Regions from separate parts of the Homo sapiens genome. Here region 1 is linked to region 2. The links are contacts of gene promoters, found by promoter capture Hi-C in blood cells and fetal thymus (Javierre and others, 2016). All regions are on one chromosome and are shown on one strand. Each heading gives the region's core, a stretch centred on a gene start or on the middle of the fragment in contact. The rest is flanking DNA. Distances are from core to core; before and after follow the strand shown.

The links. The method cuts DNA at HindIII sites, captures the fragments that hold promoters and counts their contacts. A CHiCAGO score of 5 or more calls a contact.
Region 1: a contact is called between a fragment that was not itself captured here and the fragment with the promoter of LGR6 in region 2, in 4 of 17 cell types (megakaryocytes, total CD8 T cells, endothelial precursors and 1 more). The highest score is 8.0, in megakaryocytes.

The regions. Positions count from the first base shown.
Region 1 is chr1:202,336,651-202,340,646 of GRCh38, reverse strand. All of the region lies in intron 1 of UBE2T (ubiquitin conjugating enzyme E2 T), which reads left to right. Among named protein-coding and RNA genes, the nearest start is that of UBE2T, 3.3 kb to the left of the region's middle. RefSeq lists enhancers at 3,058-3,581, 3,582-3,996. The HindIII fragment of the contact is 850 bases long and covers 1,688-2,537 here.
Region 2 is chr1:202,191,414-202,196,046 of GRCh38, reverse strand. LGR6 (leucine rich repeat containing G protein-coupled receptor 6) reads right to left here and starts at 2,248. Exons shown (of 18, transcript NM_001017403.2): 1 at 1,846-2,248. The coding sequence starts at 2,057. RefSeq lists enhancers at 3,115-3,164, 2,859-3,662. The HindIII fragment of the contact is 23,199 bases long and covers 1-4,633 here.

The sequences.
Region 1 (3,996 bases), core at 863-3,362, 140 kb before region 2:
GGTCAAGTCCCAGATATAAAATGGTGTAGTATTTGCATATAACCTATGCATGTCCTCCCATATACTTTATATTTAAGAGATGGGGATATCCTTTGTTGCACAGGCTGGTTCTTTTTTTCTTTTTTTTTTTTTTAAGAAAGGGTCTCGCTCTGCCACCCAGGCTGGAGTGCAGTGGCGCGATCTTGGCTCACTGCAACCTCCGCCTTCCTGGTTGAAGCCATTCTCCTGCCTCAGCCTTCCAAGTAGCTGGGATTACAGGCGTGCACCACCACACTTTGCTAATTTTTGTATTTTTAATAGAGATGGGGTTTCCTCATGTTGGCCAGGCTGGTCTCAAACTCCTGACCTCAAATGACCCACCCACCTTGGCCTACCAAAGTGCTGGGATTACAGGTGTGAGCCACCATGCCTGGCCAGTTTTGTTTTGTTTTGTTTTTGAGACAGAGTCTTGCTCTGTCGCCCAGGCTGGAGTACAGTGGCGCGATCTCAGCCCACTGTAACCTCCACCTTCTGAGTTCAAGCCTTTCTCCTGCCTCAGCCTCCTGAGTAGCTGGGATTACAGGCCTCCACCCCCGCAGCTGGCTAATTTTTATATTTTTAGTAGAGAGGGGATTTCCCCATGTTGGCCAGGCTGGTCTGGAACTCCCGATCTCAAGTGATCCACCTGCCTCAGCCTCCCAAAGTGCTGGGATTACAGGCGTGAGCCACTGTGCCAGGCCTCACAAGCTGGTCTTGAACCTCTGCATGTCCTCCCATATACTTTATTTATTTTAGAGATGGGGTTCTCCTTTGTTGCACAGGCTGGTCTTGAACCCCTGGCCTCAAGTGATCCTTCTGCCTTGATCTCCCAAAGTGCTGCAATTACAGGTGTGAGCCACCGTGCCCAGCCCCACCCCCATATACTTTGAATTATTTCTTGATTACTTATAATACCTAATAAAATGCTAAGTAAATTGTTGTTACACTGTATTGTTTAGGGAATAATGACAAGAAAAAATGTATAGTACGTGTTTGGACGAAGATGTTTTTTTTTTTTTTTTTTTTTTTGAGACAGAGTCCTAATCTATCGCCCAGGCTGGGGTGCAGTGGCGTGATCTTGAAGTACAAAACACTTCCAGCAAAAAATCTTTATTTTTAAGAAAAAAGTATTTTTTCTCATTTTCTATTTTTGTCATAAATTTTTATTCTTTCCAGTGGAACCAAAACTTGAACTTCCTTTTGGTTGATACATGCCCAGCAAGACTGATCAAAGAAAAGATGGCACAGATAAACAGTGTTAGAAATGAAAATGGAAACATAACCATAGATAACTACAGATTAAAAAGATAAAACATTATACAAATAAATTGAAAATTGCATGTAATAGATAAATTTGTGGAAAAATTTAACTTGCCAAAATTGATGCAAGAATAAATAACTTGAATAAGATTCAAGTAAATTGGATTTGTAGGTTAAAATTTTCTCAAAATGAAAACACCAGGATCAGATGGAGTTATTCCAGACAACCTAGTAACAAATTATCTCTTGGACTAATCCACAATATGTTAAAAAAAAAAAAAAAAAAAAAAAGGAGGCAATACTCCCTAACTCATTTTAGGAGGCTAGCATAACCTTGATAGCTAATAAAGACAAAATTAGAAAGGACAGTTATAGGCCAGTCTTACTGATTAGCATAGTGTTAAAAGCTTTCCCTTTAAGGTTAGAAATCTGACAAGAATGCCAACTATCAGCTTTTCTTTCTTTCTTTTTTCTTTTTTTTTTTTGGCTGTTGTTTAGACAGGGTCTCACTCTGCCTCCCAGGCTGGAGTGCAGTGGCACAATCATGGCTCACTACAGCCTCAGTCTCCCCGGGCTCAGGTCATCCTCCCACCTTAGCCTCCTGAGTAGCTGGGATTACAGGCTCATGCCAGCATGCTTGGCCCAGCTATCAGCTTTTTCATTTAACATTGTACTAGAAGTTACTGTCAGAATAGAAGGCAGGAAAAGAATTAGAAGGGAAGAAATAAACTTGATTATATGTGGATGACATGATTGGCAGTGTGGAATTACCATTCCCAGACTGCTCCCCACCCCAAATAGATTCATCATTAGCATTACTAAGGCTTTGGTTAAAAATCAGTTAGATTGGCTGGGCGAGGTGGCTCATGCCTGTAATCCCAGCACTTTGAGAGGCTGAGATGGGTGGATTACCTGAGGTCCGTGGTTCGAGACCAGCCTCACTAACATGGAGAAACCCTGTCTTTACTAAAAAAATACAATATTACCTGGGCCTAATGGTGCATGCCTGTAACGCCAGCTACTCAGGAGGCTGAGACAGGAGAATCGCTTGAACCCAGGAGGTGGAGATTGCGGTGAGCCAAGAGCACACCATTGCACTCCAGCCTGGGCAACAAGAGCAAAACTCCATCTCAAAAAAATAAAAAAAAATCAATTAGATTTACATGTATCAGTAAGAAATGGGTAGAAAATAGTGTTTTTGAAAAGATAGCAAAAATATAAATACTTAGAAATCAGTCTAACAAAAATTAGATAAAGCTTTATAGAGAAAATTATAAAACCTTTGGAAAGCATCAAAAAAAAGACTGAAACAGCGTGTTCATGGATCTTAGGATTCAATATCATAAAGATATCAGTTATCTCCAAATTGATCTATAGCATCAATAAAATTACAATCCAAACCACAGAACCCTGTTATGATTTGGATTATAATTTCAGATATACATATTTATGTATATATTTATGGACTTATGAACTGATTCTCAAATTTATATGGAAGAGCAAAGAGTCAAGAATAATCAAGTCATTCCTGAAGAAAAAGACCAGGTGGATAAGCTATAGTAAAACATCACATTGTACACCTTAAATATATACAATTTGTATTTGCCAGTTATACCTCAGTAAAGCTGGGAAAAAATTTAAATAATAAAAAATGAATAAGCTATAGTAATTCAAACAGTGGAGTATTGTCTCAGAAATAATCCACTTGACCAGTGGAACAAATTCAAGAGTCCCAAAACAAATCCACACATATAGAAATTTAATTTATAGTAATATCAGCAGGGAAAGGATGGACTGATTCAGTAAATGATGTTAGAACAATTGACTATTCATATGGGGAAAAACTTTAAATTGGACCCCCACCTCACTCACTATACATAAAATTCAATTCCTAGTGGATTCAATATTTAAATTTGAATAGCAAAATTATAAAATATTTGAAGGCTATGTAGGAATATCTCTACATTTGGGGGTAAGGAAAAATTTAATACACAAAGTATAAATGTAAAGAAAGAGATTTTAAGATTGATTATGTTAAGAGTATGTGTTTATTGAAAGACACCATGTACAACATGGAAAGATAAGCACAAACTGGGGGATATTTGTAACACATTAAAGGATTGGTGTTGGCTGGGCGCGGTGGCTCACGCCTGTAATCCTAGCACTTTGGGAGGCTGAGGTGGGTGGATCACGAGGTCAGGAGTTCAAGACCAGCCTGGCCAAGATGGTGAAACCCCATCTCTACTAAAAATACAAAAAGTAGCCGGGCGTGGTGGCGGGCGTCTGTAATGCCAGCTGCTCGGGAGGCTGAGGCAGAGAATTGCTTGAACCCGGAAGGCTGAGGTTGCAGTGAGCCGAGATCGCACCACTGCACTCCAGCCTGGGCAACAGACCGAGACTCCGTCTAAAAAACAAAAGGGATTAGTGTCCTTTGCTTGGTTAGTAAAGAGAGAACTAGAGTTGAGAAGAGTGTTGGGTGAATATGTGTGTAGGTGTTGGTTTTAGGTGAGAGAGACTTTGAGCATATTTGAACATTGAGGGTAAGAAAGATGGAATAATTGATGGAATGGTATCCCTGAAGATTGGGAGAAGGTGGAATCCATAGCACATGGAGAGAAACTCGGACATTTAACATTTGTTTGTACCTGAGAATGTTGACTATCTCTACCATTCTTGCTCTCACAAAGCATATGTAGACTTCCTCACAACAGCAAATAT
Region 2 (4,633 bases), core at 999-3,498:
TCAATCCCCAGGAAGACACAGACCAGCTCAGAAAACCCCACCTCCACTGAACCCAAATGCAGACTTCACAGCTCCGAGGGAATTGTGGCAAGCTAGTGGGAAAAACTTCTGCCAGCATGGATGGTAGGATGCTTGAATTCCAAAGGTGACAGTGTACCTCCTTCCCCAAGTCCTTCTAGAAAAAGGGTCATTAACCAGTCTAGGAAGACTTAATGCTGGGAAAGGAAGCTCTGGAAGGCCTTATCTCCCCTGCCCCTTCAACCCAGGCAAGGGACCTTCCTTCAGCTCACCCAGAGAAAGGCTCCACAGAAGTCACATCTAAACTCTTTAGCCACAGGACCCTGTCTTCAAATGAACCAATGTCACATACTCCCAGGATAGAAAACTGCTGAAAGAGGGGCTGGCCTGTGTGTAGGGTGGGGCCGGAGCCTGCCCTGCTTTGCCAGATGCTGAGCGCCCAGGCTCTGTGCAGTTGGTACCTTTATTCCCATGATTGCCTCTGCCGTCACCTACTGCACTGTGAAGGATTCCATTTGTCCTTCTAGATGGACATTATTTTTCTCTTCCCACTCCCTTACCTGGCCCACAGCCTGTGCCTTTTGGAGTGGAGGGGGACATCCCAACCTGGGGACAGGGACATTTGGAGAGGAGCCCCATGAAGAGTTGCCCTCTGGGACCCTCTACCTCCCACCAGGACACTCCCAACACTGAGCATCTTTAGTTCCACAAATTCTTGCTAGGCCCCTATAAAGATTCACCCAGCCTCCTCTTCCTCTAAGCTCCCATGTGCTGGAACCCCAAAGCCATAAGGAGCCTCTCTCAGGCCAGAAGGAACTCTGGGATCCTAGCCCTCAGCAGAAGGCCCCACCAGGCTTTCCCACCTGCTCCCAGCTCCTCTGAGGAAGTTGATAGAGCCTGCAGAGCTGGGCTGGAGGAGGTTTCCTTGCCCCAGAGCGGGGCTGGGGGTGCAGGTGGGTGGCCTGGAATGTGCTCTCTCACCCTCCTCCTGCCCAGGTGGTGAGCAGCCAGAGCCCCCAGCCCTCCAGCTCTGAGGGGAAGCTCCCATGAGCCAGACAGACAGGACAGCTGCCCCCAGTAGGGTCCCCTTCACGCGCCATCTCACCCCAACTCAGACGCTAAAAATGGTTCTCTGGTTTTCAGCCTCGGCGCCTGCCCACAAATTAGTGTCTCCAACACAGCCTCTTGGGACATGACTTTAGGGAGGCCCCTGGGGGAGCCAGGAGGCCCCAGTGAAGGGAGATGGTGCTGGCAGAGTCCCTTTCTGAGGAGACAAGAGTGGATAAGGCCCCCCTCCCAGCTTCTAGGAAACCCGCCCCCCCCGCCCCCACGAAGGCCACCCAGCCTCAGTGTGACAGCCCTGTTGTCCTCACCATGGCAGAAGAACAGACATTATTTCCACCCTACTGGGGCACGCTCCCCTCACCTCCACCTCCAGTTCTGTCAGCTTTACCCTCAGCCACCATCCCGGGCACTGCTCTGCTAGAAGAGAATGCAGCAACAGGAGATGGAGCAGCCAGCCCCGCGCCCTCCCGCTCAGGGTCCAGAACCCACCTCGCCAAGCCTGGGCTCCCATAGTCAGCCCACAAGCACGGAGGCCAATGGGGAAGCCAAGTCAGGGAAGCCCGGTCTCCCTGCTCGCCTGGTATTTAGTCTCAGACTCTTCTCCCCTCCCCAGTCCCGCAACGGTCAACTTGGAAGGGGGCAAACCCTCTCCGGGATGCCCATGCCCCAGGGCACCAAGCAAGCAGGTGCCCTGCTGAGGCCGGGACTGGGCGCTAGCCAGCAGCCCGCAGGACCAGGCGGGGACAGGCGGGCAGTACTCACAGGTAAGCCGTCAGGGGGTCCAGGTCCCCCGGAACGGCGGACAGCCCGAGCTCAGAGCAGTCGGCAGACAGCATGATGCCGTCCTCCTGGCAGTGGCAGGGGGCCGGGCAGGCGGTGGGCCCCGGGCCGGGCTGGGGGGCGCCGCCGGCCCTCCGGGAAGCGCACAGCGCGGCGCAAAGCCATAGCGCCCGGAGCCCCGGCGGGCTGGGCATCTCGGCGGTCGGGCTACTGGGGCACCTGGCGGCCGGGCGCGGACGCACGGCGCGATGGCCGCAGCTGCTTCCTCCCGGTCCCGGCGGGCTGCACCGTCGGTGGGGACCGCCCCAGGGGCTCTATTGGGCGGCGGCGGCGGCGGTGGGAGCGCCGGGACGGTGCAGTCAGAGAGGGGCAGGCATTGTTGAGTGATCTTCGTTATTCAGTTTCACAGGCTGGGCTTGGCAAGGGAGGGAGACCCAGCCGGAGGAGGAGTCAAGGAAACTTTCTACACTGCGGCTCGCTCCTCTTCCCTCCTTCCTTCGGAGCTGGCAGGAATTTCATCCAGGAAAGAAAAAAAAAAAAGGAAGAAAGCAAAGAAACCCAAGCGAGCAAAGCTCAGCCCGTCAGAGACCTGCATTTGTTTGGATAGGGTGTCCCAGGGCCTTGGCCGCAGGGCTGGGGACCCTCTTGCCTTTGGGGACAGCCACGAGGTCACATGGGACCCAGAGGAGGTCTCTGAAAGAGGCCTTGGGGCTCCCATTGCCCCTCATGCCTCCACCACGTTTCACACTGCAGGAAACTGAGACCCAAGAGGCAAAATGATTTGTTCAAGGTGACACAGCTGATGGGACATCCCCAGAGCTGGAACTCGTCCACCCTCCCTGGCCTGTCTGCTAGGACAGGAGAGAGGGGAGTGAGGGGCTACCCTGGAAGAGGCCAGGCTGCGGAGGGTTCCACTGCAGGCTGGGATGACCCGACGGTGGGCAACCAGGAGCAGTCTCCTCACTGAGAGGCCGGGCCTTGACTCCAAAGAAACGGGTGTGGAGTTACACCCGCTGAGTGCACCCTGGGTGGAAATGCACTCCTGCAGCCTCTGTCAGGTTTACGGCCTGGGGACCACCTTGATCCCTGCTCCCAGGACCTCGGGAGTCTGAGGGACTGTGGGCAGCTCAGCTGGTTGTCAGAGCCCACCTCAAAGTAAGCGGATTGGTGCCACCTGGAGGCCGGGTGCTGCACCTGCAGCTCAGCCACCCTGAGGCTGGAATCCCACCAAGTGGCTGACCTGGGCCGGCCCCAGAGCCCTGGAGAGCAAAGGGCATGGTGGTTAAAACTGAGGTCAATCCCTGTTCTCTCCTTAGACCATAGTGAGCTGGCTGTGCTTCCTTCATGCAGCCTCTTGCTCTCTCTGGTCTCTCCCATGCTGAGCCAAGCCCCCGCGCAGAGCTAGAGCAGGCTGTGGGCCCCCCTCCTTCCTTTTTTTGCCCTATCTCCCCATGGTCCAGCCAGAGGGTATACTAGAAACCTGGGACCTCAGAGGCATCCAGGATTTCTTCCACCCTGTCTTTCCACATGCCAGGATCCTCTCATCAACACCTCTCCACTCTCCCAATAACCTCCCAGGGCTAGAGGGGCTGCATAGCTGGACCAAGAAATGAGCAGACCTTGACCCTAGGCCTCCAGTTGGTGCCATGGCGCTGAAAGTAGAAGACGAGCCTCCGCTCTCGCTCTCCCTCTCCCTCTCCCCTCTTTCCACGGTCTCCCTCTGATGCCGAGCCGAAGCTGGACTGTACTGCTGCCATCTCGGCTCACTGCAACCTCCCTGCCTGATTCTCCTGCCTCAGCCTGCCGAGTGCCTGCAATTGCAGGCGCATGCCGCCACGCCTGACTGGTTTTCGTATTTTTTGGGTGGAGACGGGGTTTCGCTGTGTTGGCCAGGCTGGTCTCCAGCTCCTAACTGCGAGTGATCCGCCAGCCTCGGCCTCCCGAGGTGCCGGGATTGCAGACGGAGTCTCCTTCACTCAGTGCTCAATGGTGCCCAGGCTGGAGTGCAGTGGCGTGATCTCGGCTCGCTACAACATCCACCTCCCAGCAGCCTGCCTTGGCCTCCCAAAGTGCCGAGATTGCAGCCTCTGCCCGGCCGCCACCCCGTCTGGGAAGTGAGGAGCGTCTCTGCCTGGCCGCCCATCGTCTGGGATGTGAGGAGCCCCTCTGCCTGGCTGCCCAGTCTGGAAAGTGAGGAGCGTCTCTGCCCAGCCGCCATCCCATCTAGGAAGTGAGGAGCACCTCTTCCCGGCCGCCATCCCATCTAGGAAGTGAGGAGCGTCTCTGCCCGGCTGCCCATCGTCTGAGATGTGGGGAGCGCCTCTGCCCTGTCGCCCCGTCCGGGATGTGAAGAGCGTCTCTCCCCGGCCGCCCCGTCTGAGAAGTGAGGAGACCCTCTGCCTGGCAACCGCCCTGTCTGAGAAGTGAGGAGCCCCTCCGCCCAGCAGCCGCCCCGTCTGAGAAGTGAGGAGCCCCTCCGCCCGGCAGCCACCCCGTCTGGGAAGTGAGGAGCGTCTCCGCCCGGCAGCCACCCCGTCCGGGAGGGAGATGGGGGGGTCAGCTCCCCGCCTGGCCAGCCGCCCCGTCCGGAAGGGAGGTGGGGGAATCAGCCCCCCGCCCGGCCAGCCGCTCGGGAGGTGAGGGGCGCCTCTGCCCGGCCGCCCCTACTGGGAAGTGAGGAGCCCCTCTGCCCGGCCAGCCGCCCCATCCGGGAGGGAGGTGGGGGGGTCAGCCCCCCGCCTGGCCAGCCGCCCCGTCCGGGAGGTGAGGG